Regions from separate parts of the Homo sapiens genome. Here region 2 is linked to region 1. The links are contacts of gene promoters, found by promoter capture Hi-C in human tissues and cell types (Jung and others, 2019). All regions are on one chromosome and are shown on one strand. The core of a region is centred on a gene start or on the middle of the fragment in contact, and the rest is flanking DNA. Distances in the headings are between cores, read along the strand shown.

What was found. The method cuts DNA at HindIII sites, captures the fragments that hold promoters and counts their contacts. A contact is called where the count stands out against the background at its distance.
Region 2: the fragment with the promoter of SBK1 here is called in contact with the fragment with the promoter of RABEP2 in region 1 in 1 of the 25 tissues and cell types used here (lymphoblastoid cells).

The regions. Positions count from the first base shown.
Region 1 is chr16:28,923,419-28,929,732 of GRCh38, reverse strand. RABEP2 (rabaptin, RAB GTPase binding effector protein 2) reads left to right here and starts at 4,495. Exons shown (of 13, transcript NM_024816.3): 1 at 4,495-4,630; 2 at 5,118-5,330. The coding sequence starts at 4,570. RefSeq lists enhancers at 3,452-4,035, 5,014-5,243, 5,274-5,363 and silencers at 4,254-4,603, 4,634-4,853. The HindIII fragment of the contact is 23,237 bases long and covers 1-6,314 here.
Region 2 is chr16:28,288,000-28,294,568 of GRCh38, reverse strand. It overlaps SBK1 (SH3 domain binding kinase 1), which reads right to left and starts at 2,044. Exons shown (of 4, transcript NM_001024401.3): 1 at 1,269-2,044. It overlaps LOC124903670 (a long non-coding RNA gene), which reads left to right and starts at 2,504. Exons shown (of 2, transcript XR_007065033.1): 1 at 2,504-2,802. RefSeq lists silencers at 1,944-2,173, 2,381-2,552. The HindIII fragment of the contact is 7,957 bases long and covers 1-4,249 here.

The DNA.
Region 1 (6,314 bases), core at 3,246-5,745:
GTCTTTACTAAAAATACCAAAAAAAATGTATCTGGGCATGATGGTGCATACCTGTAGTCTCAGCTACTCAGGAGGCTGAGGTGGGAGGATCACTTGAGCCCAGGAGTTCAAGTCTAGCCTGGGCAACATGGTGAAACACCATCTCTACAAAAAATATGAAAAAAAGACTGGGCACAGTGGTTCATGCCTGTAATCTCAGCACTTTGGGAGGCTGAGGCGGGTGGATTACTTGAGGTCAGGAGAATGAGACCAGCCTGGCCAACATGGTGAAACCCAGTATCTACTAAAAATACAAAAAAATTAACTCATGCCTATAATCCCAGCTACTCGGGAGGCTGAGGCAGGAGAATTGCTTGAACCTGGGAGGCAGAGGTTGCAGTGAGCCGAGATTGCACCTTTGCACTCCAGCCTGGATGACAGAGTCTCTGTCTCAAAAAAAAAAAAAAAAAAAAAAGAAAGAAAAGAAAAGAAAAAAGAAAAAGAAAACCTTCTCAAATTCCCTTTACTCACATGCTTTTTTGATCGCATGCCCCTATTTCATTCCCAGCACTTGCCCCAATCTCAAATTATGCATGTGTATTTGCTAGTCTTCTCATCTGCCTCCTGCACCAGAATGTTCTTTGAGAACAGAAATCTTTACCATCCCTAGATGTGCACAGGCATCTAGTAGACACTCAATAGGTATTTGCTGGATAAAGGAAAGAAAAGAAGTTAGGGGCCAGGCAAGGTAGCTCATGTAATCCCAGCACTTTGAGAGACTGAGCGGGGCGGATCATTTGAGGTCAGGAGTTCAAGGCCAGCCTGGCCAACATGGTGAAACCCCATCTCTACTAAAAATACAAAAATTAGCTTGGTGCGGTGGTGCGCGCTTGTAATCCCAGCTACTTGGGAGGCTGAAGCAGGAGAATCGCTTGAACTTGAAAGGCGGAGGTTGCAGTGAGTGAAGATCGCGCCATTGCACTCCAGCCTGGGAGACAAGAGCATTTCAAAAAAAAAAAAAAAGGAAAAGAAGTTAGGAAGAAAACTCTCTCCCTTTTTTTGTAGAGGCGAGGAAAGCTCCTTTTATTCTCCTTTCTCACTATATTGCCCAGGCTGGTCTTGAACTCCTGGGCCCAGGCAATCTTCCTGCCTCAGCCTCCCAAAGTGCTGGGATTACAGGCATGAGCCACCGTACCTAGCTGAAAGAAAATTTTCTTTTCTTTTTTTTTTTTTGAGACAGAGTTTCACTCTTGTTGCCCAGGCTGGAGTACAGTAATGCGATCTCGGCTCACTGCAACATCTGCCTTCCAGGTTCAAGTGATTCTCCTGCCTCAGCCACCTGAGTAGCTGGGATTACAGGTGCGCACCACCACGCCCAGCTAATTTTTCTATTTTTAGTAGAGACAAGGTTTCACCATGTTGGCCAGGCTGGTCTTGAACTCCTGACCTCAGGTGATCCACCCAACTCAGCCTCCCAAAGTGCTGGGATTACAGGCATGAGCCACCGCATCTGGTCGAAATTTTCTTTTCTCTTCCCCCACATGCACTCTATCATCAAGGCCAGTCCATTTTATATCCTAAATATTGATGGAATCAATTTTCCCCTCTGAATCCTTCCTTCACAATCAGAAGCAATTCAACAGCCTCTCTCCTGGGCTCCCTGTCCCCTATATCTTTTGGTTCCCATCTACACTCCGCATGTCAAGAGAACTTCTTTGATGTTAGTCATGTGCTTCCCCTGTTCAATGGCCTTCAGTGGCTCCCAGGGCCTGCAGGATAAACTCAAACCTGAGAGCTGTCAGGAAGGCCCTCCCCAAACTGACTGGAGGCTGATTTCTAGTCATTATTTCAGCCCCTTCCCCAGAAACCCTGCTGCATGCACAGGGAGTCTGGATTTAATTTTTTTTTTTTTTTTTTAGACAGGGTCTTTCTCTCCCTCAGGCTGGAGTGCAGTGGCACAATCATGCTCACTGCAGCCTCAGCCTCCAGGGCTCAAGTAGATCTTCCCGCCTCAGCCTCTTGAGTAGCTTGGACTACAGATGCACATCACCATGCCCAGCTAATTTTTTTTTTTTTTTGAGACAGAGTCTTGCTCTGCTGCCCAGGCTGGAGTGTAATGGCATGATCTCAGCTCACTGCAACCTCTGCCTCCCGGGTTCAAGCAATTCTCCTGCCTCAGCCTCCCAAGTAGCTGGGACTATAGGCGCATGCCACCATGCCCGGCTAATTTTTTGTATTTTTAGTAGAGACAGGGTTTCACCATGTTAGCCAGGATGGTCTTGATCTCCTAACCTCGTGATCCGCCCTCCTCAGCCTCCCAAAGTGCTGGGATTACAGGCGTGAGCCACCGTGTCCGGCCATGCCCAGCTAATTTTTTAATTTTTTGTAGAGATGAGGTCTCACTATGTTGTTCAGGCTGGTCTCGAACCCCTGGGCTCAAGTGATCCTCCTGCCATTGGCCTCCTAAAGTGCTAGCATTATAGGCATAAGCCACCACACTCAGCCAGAGGTGGTTATTTTAGTTAGGGTGATCAGGGAAGGCCTCACTGAGGAGGTAACATTTGAGCCGAGACCTCAGCTCCAAGCTTGGTGGAAAACACTTGGTTTTATACTTGATGAAAAAGTAAGTGCGTGTTTAGTTTTGTTCAAAACTGCCATACTCTTTTTGCAGAGTGGCTATACCATTTCACATTCCCATCAACAAAATATGAGAAACCTAGTTTCTCCACATACTCACCAGCATTTGGTGTTAGCATTCTTATTTTAGCCATTCCAAGAAGTGCGTAGTGATGAAAGCAATTGTGGTTTTAATTTGTATTTCCCGAATAAATAGCTAATGATGTTTAACATCTTTTCATGCACATATTGCCACCTGTGACAGCAGTGAAATATCCGTTCATATCCTTTGTCCATTTTCTTTATTTCAAGTTCTGGGGTACATGTGCACGATGTGCAGGTTTGTTACACAGGGAAACATCTGCCATGGTAGTTTACCGCACCCATTAACCCATCACCTAGGTATCAAGCCCAGGATGCATTAGCTACTCTTGCTGATGCTCTCCCTCCCCCCTCCCAACACCCACCCCACAGGCCCCCATGTGTGTTGGTCCCCTCCCTGTGTCCATGTGTTCTCATTGTTCAGCTCCCACTTATAAGTGAGAACATGCATGTTTAGCTTTCTGTTGCTGCATTAATTTGCTGAGGATAATAGCTTCTAGCTTCATCCATGTCCCTGCAAAGGACATGATCTCGTTCCTTTTTATGGCTGTATAGTATTCCATGGTGTATATGTACCACATTTTCTTTATCCAGTCTATCATTGATGGGCATTTGGGTTGAGTCCATGTCTTTGCTATTTTGAATAGTGCTTCAATGAACATACTCGTGCATGTATCTTTGTAATAGAATGATTTATATTCCTTTAGGTATATACCCAGTAATGGGATTTCTGGGTCAAATGGTATTTCTGGTTCTAGGTCTTTGAGGAATCACCACACTGTCTTCCACAATGGTTGAACTAATTTACATTCCCACCAACAGTGTAAAAGCGTTCTACCTTTGGCCATTTTCAAACTGCATTATCTGTTTTACAAAAATCGCTCCAGCTGCTTTACGGAGAATTAATTAATTAAAGGGTGGAGTCGACACTGCGGAAGTTCAGGAGAAGTGATGGGAGCTGGGACGGAGTGTTAGCGCTGGAGATGGAGAAAAAGGGGCACATTCTGGAATAGTCAGCACATTGGAAGTAGAGTTTACGGGACTTGCAGGAGGACACGTAGAATCAAGGACTTCCAGGTTCCTGGCGTGTCCTTTACAGAGGGAAAAAAGGTTTGAGGGAAGGGGAACCAAGGCTCTGGACATAAATCTGAATTGCCTGTCACCGTCCGGGTGGAGGTCACAGATAAAGAGCCTGATCTAGACACAGGCGGAGAGGAGAGGAGGGATTTGAGGGCGTTGGGAGGAGGAAAGGGGGGCCAGCAGGAAGCGGTGACTGGCTGAGTAACAAAATGGGGGTGGGGACGTGCAAGTTTCAGACTCCGACTAACTACGCGGGGACTCCGAGGCGCTCAGAAAAATGAAGCCGACCCGGCCCTGCCCCGAGGGACGCTCCAAGAGGGCGGAGGTGCAGGGAGGGCCCCGCCACAATTCGCGGTAACGCAAGCCAGGCTCGGGCGGAAGGGCGGCCGGAGCCGATCAAAGGCTGGCTCCGGGCAGGGGCAGCGAGGGAGCGAGGGGGAGCTCTCCGCAGGCCGGTGTCCCGGAGGAGGCATAATTGGAGCAGGGCTTCCAAGGTCACGGAGAGACGCCGGGCAAGACCTCTTAAGGATCCTCTTCCGGGCTTGAAAGGCAGGCGTCCTCCCGAACCGCGCGACCCAGCCAAGAAGAGCCGGGGCGGGGCCGGGGCCGGGGCCGGGGGCCGACTCGGGAATCTTCGGCCGAGGCTCGGCAATCCCCCCATCCTCCGTCCGGGGCCTCCAGCCCGGGGCCGATCCGGAAACAGCCGAGCGGATCCGGAAACAGCCGAGAGGACCCGGAAGCGGTGCGCTCCGTCACCAGGGAGTGCGGGAATCCGCCGTTTGCGCTGAGGCAATGGCGGCAGCTGCGCCGGTGGCCGCGGACGACGATGAGCGGCGGCGGCGGCCGGGGGCTGGTACGTGAGGGGGCGTCCGTGCAAGCGGGGAACGGTGATGCTGGGGGCGGGGCCGAGCCAGCCACCTGCGGATGGGGGGTGGAGAGGGATGATGGAGGAAGGGGCGGGGCCACGCCGTCGGGAAAGGGGGCGGGGCCTACAGCCACAGGCAAAAGGGGGCGTGGCCCGGCCATTGAAGGGGTAGGGCCAGTGACAGGTGCGAAGTGGGGCCCGGTGAGGAAGGGGCGCGGCCACTAGGAGGGCGGGGCCAGGTGGGACCGAAGAGAGGACTGAGTGAAACTGGCCACCGCGAAGAGATGGAGTGTAGGCAGCACCCGGCAGAGCGAGTGGGAAGGGGGCGGGGCAGGGGCGGGGCCAGGTGAGCCGGGCGGGCCCAGGTGAAGGAGGCCCCAGATGAAGGCAACAGTACTAGGTTGCAGGACTTGCTAAGCCGGTAGGTGGCCTGGGGTAAGAGATGGGAAGAGAGGCTGATCCCTGTCCCCCACAGCACTGGAGGACTCCCGGTCCCAGGAAGGGGCAAATGGTGAGGCCGAGTCAGGTGAGCTCAGCCGGCTTCGGGCTGAGCTGGCAGGCGCCCTGGCAGAAATGGAAACCATGAAGGCTGTGGCAGAGGTGAGCGAGAGCACGAAGGCCGAGGCTGTGGCTGCGGTGCAGCGGCAGTGCCAAGAGGAGGTGGCCTCGCTGCAGGCCATCCTGAAAGGTGAGACGCGGGACTCACCTAGACTCCCCATCAACCCCATACTGGGGAGTGCATGACGAGAAAGGGATTGGGGGCACAGATAAGCTATGGGATAGGTTAGCAGGGCTGCCTGGCACAGGGCATGCCTATGGCCCAGAGGAAGGGCCGCCCTTTTAAAATTTGCATAGAGGCCCTCCATGTGATAGCAGCAGCTCTGTCAGTTATAGCTAAGTTTAGCTCCCAGCTTCTATCTGTTGCCTTGTCCCATGTCATTTCTTGTCCCTCACTGATGATTGATCAACCCTGAAGATGGGCGAGAAACTTCTCAGTTCCCCAAACCAACCTCATTTTAGTCTGGACTTCTGGGAAATAGAATCAGCCCTGGCCCAGTCTCTGTGAGTCTAATGCTCTGCTCTCTAGCCTTCCCCAGACACTCCCCCCTCCACCCCACGCCATGCACCAGCTTCCCCACCTCCGCCCCACGTTCTTTGTACTTGGTCCTCTGGCCCCAGACGCCCCAGCTGCTGATCCTGTTTTCTACTCTCCTTCCTCTAGCAGAAGCCAGAGACTCTGAAACAGATGTCAGAGCTGCCCCCGCTGCTATGCCCCTGCTGCGGTGGGGCTCTCGTCAACTCTCTCCTGGACTTTTGTCCCAACCTTCTCACAGATCTTCCTCTATAGTGTGGCCTTGACATTGGCTTCCAGAGTAAACTTCCTAAAATTCCCTTCCCAACATGCGATTTCCCTTTCTAACAGCTGCTGGTGGCTGGAGACTTCTCTGGGGCTGTATTTCCCACATTTCAGGATCCACCTGCCTGTGCAATGTAGACACATCCTTGTACAACTTACTGTGCTGTTTACTTAATATTTGTTCTTTAAATAGATCCACATTTTAAAAGTTTACATACATTTATTAAGGGAAACTTGTTATATCTACTATATAAGAAAAGCCAGGTGTGTCCTAAATAATAACAATAGCTAGCTTTTTTTTTTTTTCTTGAGTCA
Region 2 (6,569 bases), core at 795-3,294, 630 kb after region 1:
GTCTGATGATCAGGAGACATCAAGAAAGGAGATAGGAATGAAGTGGGGAAAAGGACCCTGACTCTAGCGCATGGTCCATCACAGACATTGGCGACAGGTTTGTTGAATGAATAAGTGAAGGAGCTACTGGCAGGGCTAGCTGTATCCTGGGTCCTGCCTTCCCGAGCCTCAGTTTGTGCACCTATCAAATGGGTCCAGCATCACTGCTTGTCTGCAGAAGGCTCAGAGAGAAGAGATGAGAGGAACTCCCAGCAGCCCAGAGTGTGTTCTTTCCATGCAGTCCAGCCCCTTCTCAGGATCTGATTCAGGATTTCAGGGTACAATGTCCCCTAGGGTCTCTCGGCTTCCTCATATGCGGTAGAGCCTGGGGTTCAGGACCTCACTGAGGGCCAGGCTGGGGTACGGCCGTGTGTACCACCTGGAAAGCCACAGTGAGACCCTGGAATTGGCCCTTGGTTGTCTGGGACACATTGAGCCAACCCTTGGTTTAACCTGGGTGTTCTCCAGGTTAGGAGGGGAAGGGAAAGACTTGGGTTGCTGTCCCTGGGACAAATGGGAACAGAACGGTGCCCTGACCTGAAATAGCTTCTTCATCTAGGCTACCTCTCCTCCCCAGAAACTAGCGCCTCACTTTGGGGGGTACTTACTCCCTCCCTGTCCCACAGGGAGTACAAAGTATGGTTTAGGTAAAGACCGCCAGTGTGGCCTGGGTCGGGCAGCAGAGTCACAGGGAAGATGCGATTCCCATTCATCCGCTCAAACACACCCCTTCCCCGCACTCTCACAGACAAAGACACACACCCGAAGCCCCAGCCATCACCCAGGGCCACATAAGGCAGCCCCCCTCACCTGTGGGCACCCCCAAATTTTCCCCTCTCGGGGGGACTTCACTAGAAGCTCAGCTTGGCCGTGGGGGAGGGGTATTCACACTCCAAGGACCTGGGGGCCAACCTCCAGGCTCGCAGCTTTTGGGGGGGGACTCTCCGCCCTCTTCCCCCCTCTCCATGGCACAACGGGCTCCACCACCACTCCTCCGTGGGGCCGGGGAGCTGCGCCCGAGCCTCAAGGCTAGGGAGTGGGGTGGGGGAAGGGAGAGGAGGAGGGGGCGGCTCCTCCAAGCGAGACACAAAGAGACGTCCTTCAGCCTCGGCTCCATGGCGACGCTGGGGAAGGGGGAGCGCGCAACCCGATACTTCCTTCCCCACCTGCAGGGCTATGGGGACCTCGGTGGCCACTCACCTGCCGCCCCTCACCTGGGCCCGGCTTACCTGGGCTGGGGCCGCGGGGACGCCGCGGCAGGGGGCCTGGGCGCCGTCGCGGTCTTCGTCTGCCCGGCCCCGGGGGCTCAGGGCGCCACGACCATGGACCGGGGTGCAAGCGGTGCCGCCAGGGGCTCAGTCGCCCAAGTCCTGGAGCTTTAGGGGGGGGATCCCCGAGGCTTCTTGCTGGTGAGAGTGTCTCTTGCTGTCCCCGGCTGCCTAGATTTGGGATTTCTATGTACCGGAGTTGGGGGGAATTGGGATCCCCTGATCTAGGGGCGTTCTGAGCTGGGTCTTCTTGTCTTGAGGTGTGGAGTTGTAATGACCGGATCTTGGGAGGGGGTTCTCGCAATCCCGGCCTGGGGGCACTGCGTTCTAGGTCTTGGGGCGGGGGCCCAGACTGAGGAGGGGGAGTCCTTGCGGTGCCGTAGGGGGCTTGCTGTCTTCTAAATACCGAGGAAGTCTCCGCTTTCCCCGCAGGGGAGTCGCTCGGTGTCGGATCCGGGAGGGCCCCCCCTCTTCCCCGAGGCTCGCCGGATCCTGGATGTGGAAGGGGGCTCCCCGCACTCCTCGGCTGCGGGGGCTTTAGTGGGTCCCGGCCACCGGCGGGCGCTGGAAGCCCCTCAGCCGCTGGGGGGCTCGGTCGCCGCCGCTACGAGCAGCCCGGCCCTGCGCTCCCGGCCCCCGGCCTGGCCCGGGCTCCGGCTGCGGCTCCAGCTCGCGCTCCGCCTGGCGCTCGGGCCCCGGCCCCGGCGCCCGCCCGGGCTGCGCTCCATCGCGGCATCGCGGCTCCGCCCTCCAGCCAGCGCGCACCTGCCCGCCCGGCCCGCGGCTCCGCCCTCCGGCTCGCGCGCCGCCGCCCGCCCCTTTGTCCGTCCCGCTCGGCGCGCGCCCTCGCGCAAGCGCGCTCACCCGCCGCGCGCCCGCCCTCCCGCCGCGCGCCGCGGAGCGCAGATTCTCCCCGCGCGGCGCCCCCACCCCCTTCCGGCCGCGCTGGGTCCTAGCGCCGGTGGCTCCCGAGCTGGCTCCCACCCCCCACCCCCCACCCACCCCACTCCTTTTCTAGGTCAGAGCCCACGAGGGGGCGAGAACGAGGTTACAGAGGACTCGGGGGAGTCTGAGAGGGTCACCTGGTCCAGCTTTCTGGGCCCTGCGGGACGAGACTGCCCCAGACTGTCCCGGTCTGTGCTAGTGGGGCGGAGCCTGTGTGTGTTTGAAGGAGGGAAAACAAATCCAGGTTCTGCATTCGGATATGCATTTCATTCATCCATGCGTCCGCCTGCCTGCCTGCGCTTCCATCCATCCATCCATCCGTCCGTCCATCCATCCATCCATCCATCCATGCATCCTATTTCCAGCGAGACGTCAGAGAACTCACAGTCTTCTTGGGGAAGAGGTCATAAACTTGGGCCTGGGTGGTTGCCCTATCCAACTGAGGTCGCCTTTGCGATCCCTGCTGCAAATAGGCAGTGACTAGTCCAGGAGTGCAGCTGGGAGGAACTGCTCGCCGGATAGAAGGGAAGAAAGGAGATTCTAGGCAGAGGTACAGCAGGTGTAAGGGATGTTGCATTGTCTGTTTGATAACCGGAAATTGGTGGCCTGGATGAAGTGGGTGGATGGGGACAGAGATGAGATAGGGACAGCTCGTCCTTCCAGGCCCTGTTCTTTCTCCTCCCTGCAGCTCACTCTTTCCCTAGTGAGAAAGCCCCAATAGGACGCCTTCCCTATTTCTTTCTTTTTTTTTTGTTTTTTTAGCTTCAAGCTTCAAAAGCATTTCTTTTTCATTCTTTTTTTTAATTATTATTATACTTTAAGTTTTAGGGTACATATGCACAACATGCAGGTTTGTTACGTATGTATACGTGTGCCATGTTGGTGTGCTGCACCCATTAACTCGTCATTTAGCATTAGGTATATCTCCTAATGCTATCCCTCCCCCTTCCCCCCACCCCACAACAGTCCCTGGTGTGTGATGTTCCCCTTCCTGTGTCCATGTGTTCTCTTTGTTCAATTCCCACCTATGAGTGAGAACATGCGGTGTTTGGTTTTTTGTCCTTGCGATAGTTTGCTGAGAATGATGGTTTCCAGCTTCATCCATGTCCCTACAAAGGACATGAACTCATCATTTTTTATGACTGCCCCTATTTCTTCTAAGTTTTTGATCAGGCTGTTTTCTCAACCCAGCGTAATCCTCCCAGCCACTCCCGACTGTTTCCAGAGCTTTAGGAGCCAGGGATTGCAAACGCAAGTACCTACAGGCGCAGACATGAGCGACTGGGGTCGCATGTAAAGTGATAGAGAGGGTGGAGAAGAGGGGAACTGGAGACATCGTGGGCTGTGCGTGGCTGGATGATATTCAAAGAGAAGCAGGACATCCAGAAATCTTCCAACTTTTAAATGTTTGAAACGAATTCCCAAAATTCGGAAATATTGAATGGGCCAAATGAAACACACTTTGCAGACAAATCTGGCCCCCAGACCATAGGTTGGCAACCTCTACCATTGAGAATATTGTTTCAGTTCTTAACTTGTCGGCCTCCTGCCTCTGTCTAGATTGTCTTTTTTCTCTTTTCTTTTCTTCTCTTCTCTTCTCCTTTCTTTCTTTTTCTCTCCCCGCCCTTCCTTCCTTCCTTTCTTCTTTCCTTCCTTCCTGCCTTCCTACCTTCCTTCTTTTTTTGACAGAGTCTTGCTCTGCTGCCCAGCCTGGAGTGCAATGGCACGATCTTGCCTCACCGCAACCTCTGCCTGCGGGGTTCAAGTGATTCTCCTGGCTCAGCCTCCTGAGTAGCTGGGATTACAGGCGTGTGCCACTATGCCTGGCTAATTTTTGTATTTTTACTACAGACGGGGTTTCATCATGTTGGCCAGGCTGGTCTCAAACTCCTGACTTCAAGTGATCCACCCACCTCAGCCTCCCAAAGTGCTAGGATTACAGGCATGAGCCACCGTGCCTGGTGATTGTCTTTTTTCTAGAATCCAAATCCTTTGGGATCATCAGGTCTGTAAAATACAAATGGGGTTGGGTTGCTGTCTTACATAAAACTGCCAAGGACTTCCTGTGTACCATCAGGGTAAAGTCTAACCTTACTTATCCTGGCATTCAAAGCCCTTAACATTTAGAGCCTGCTCTCCATTCCCCTACAAAGGACCTCTCTTCTCCATTCGGCCTTGACCTCAGCCACGCTATTCTAGGACATCTGCCTCTGTCTTTTTTTTTTTTTTTTGAGACAGGGTCTCACTTTGTCACCAAGGTTGGAGTGTAGTGGTGCAATCATGGCTCACTACAGCCTCAACCTCCTGGGATCAAGTGATCCTCCCACCTCAGCCCCCTAAGTAACTAGGACTACAGGTGTGCACCACCAGGCTCAGCTAATTTTTGTATTTTTTGTAGAGATGGGGTTTTGCCATGTTGCCCAGGCTGGTCTTGAACTCCTGAGCTTAAGCCTTCCATCCACCTCAGCCTCCCAAAGCGCTGGGATTGCGAGTGTGAGCCACCACGCCCAGCCCTGACATCTGTTTGTTTTTGTTTTTTTTTTTTTTCTGAGATGGAGTTTCACTCTTATTGCCCAGGCTGGAGTGCAATGGCACAATCTTGGCTCACTGCAGCCTCCGTCTCCCGGGTTCAAGTGATTCTCCTGCCTCAGCCTCCCAAGTAGTTGGGATTACAGGTGTGTACCACCACGCCTGGCTAATTTTTGTATTTTTAGTAGAGATGAGGTTTTGCCATTGTTGGCCAGGCTGGTCTTGAACTCCCGACCTCAGGTGAGCTGTCCACCTCAGCCTCCCAAAGTGCTGGGATTACAGGTGTGAACCACCTCACCCGGCCTGACATCTGCTTTTGATACCTCCACGCCTTTGTCTACTCGGTTTCCTCTGTCTGGAACACCTTTCCCTTCCTCCTTGTTTTCCAAACAAGTTCTCTTCTAAGAACTCTGTGTCTTCCCTTCCTCTCCCACACTCCTTGTCCTGCCAATGTAGAGGAGTTTCGGATTTCATTCTAACTTTGTTCTAATCCTCTCCAAGGCCTTAGTGCCGTAAATAAACTAATAGAGGGATTTGAGTTATTGGGTGTGCAGAAGAGGGGGCTGGAGAGGGAGAAAGCAGGAAGAAAACATTCTGTGTCTAAAAGCTGAGTCTCAGAATGTTAGCACTTAGAGAGCACTTTCCTCTTTTTGCAGAGGAAGAAACAGACCTAGAGAGGGGAGGAGTCAAATCAAGCTTTGCAGTGCCCCTAGCCACAGTTAATCAAGGGTTGCCCAGTTCAAGGCCACCTTCTGCGGAAACCTTCCCTGATTCCTTATCTGGGGCTTTGATTACCCATAGTGCAGTTAGTAAAGGTTTGCTGGCATGCATTGTGGGTAATTAAGTCCCCCTCCCGACTCCCTCTCAGTTCTACAGGGAGGGAAGTCCTGGTCCCCAAAGAGGGTATGCTCTAGCCAGGGGACACAGCATGGGTCCCATTAAATTTAAGCTGTGGCCGGGGCTGGGAAACTTTGGACTCCATGTGTTCTGGGACCAGCAGGTGAGAAGAGAGGGCACCAGCATGGCTGCACTAACTGACCCTGGTCAGCAGAGAGGGCAGGGCTGCTTTTACAGTGGGAGGACAAGGAGGAATATATGGGAATCCAGTGATCCATGGGTTACAATAACCAATAATTTAGGTCCCTCAGGACTGAAGGGTCGGGTCACATCACCAGGTAACCCACCAAGGCCTGCCAAGGCGACGGTGGAGAGTGTGGATAATTTAGAATGGATAGTGAAGAAAGAAAGAACAAGCGCTGGTTATGGCCTCTCGATAACTGCAGCAAGGAGGCGGGGGCTCTAGCATGTTCCACTAATCTCCCTCTTCAAAGTTTTCCCATAGAAAGAGAGGCTCACAGGATCCATGGTAGAGCTGAGTAGTGCAAGGGATGGAAGGTGACGGCCCTGAAAATGTGCCATTCAGACCTCTGACTTCAGGAAAAGTCATTGACCAAGGGCAGCAGCTGTGAAACCCATCTGTGGTTCACACAGGAAGGCTCTGGTTTGCTTCCCACGAGCTGATCCCAGCCAAAGAACTAAGGCGCGTCTGTTCGTGGAGACACAGGACTCCTCGAACAGGCAGCTTTGGATCAAGGACTCCCCCTTGACTTTGTAAAAACTTTCTCACTGCACTGCAGTTGAAGACTCTTCCTCTCCCATCATCCTTCCTTCTGTCTCTCTTTTCCACGTGTTAGATCTAGTACAGTCTGATGATCTTCCCAGCTTCCTCTTCCTCCCTCCTTCTTGGTCCCTCCCAAGGGTTTTCCTCAATAAATCATTTGCACATCT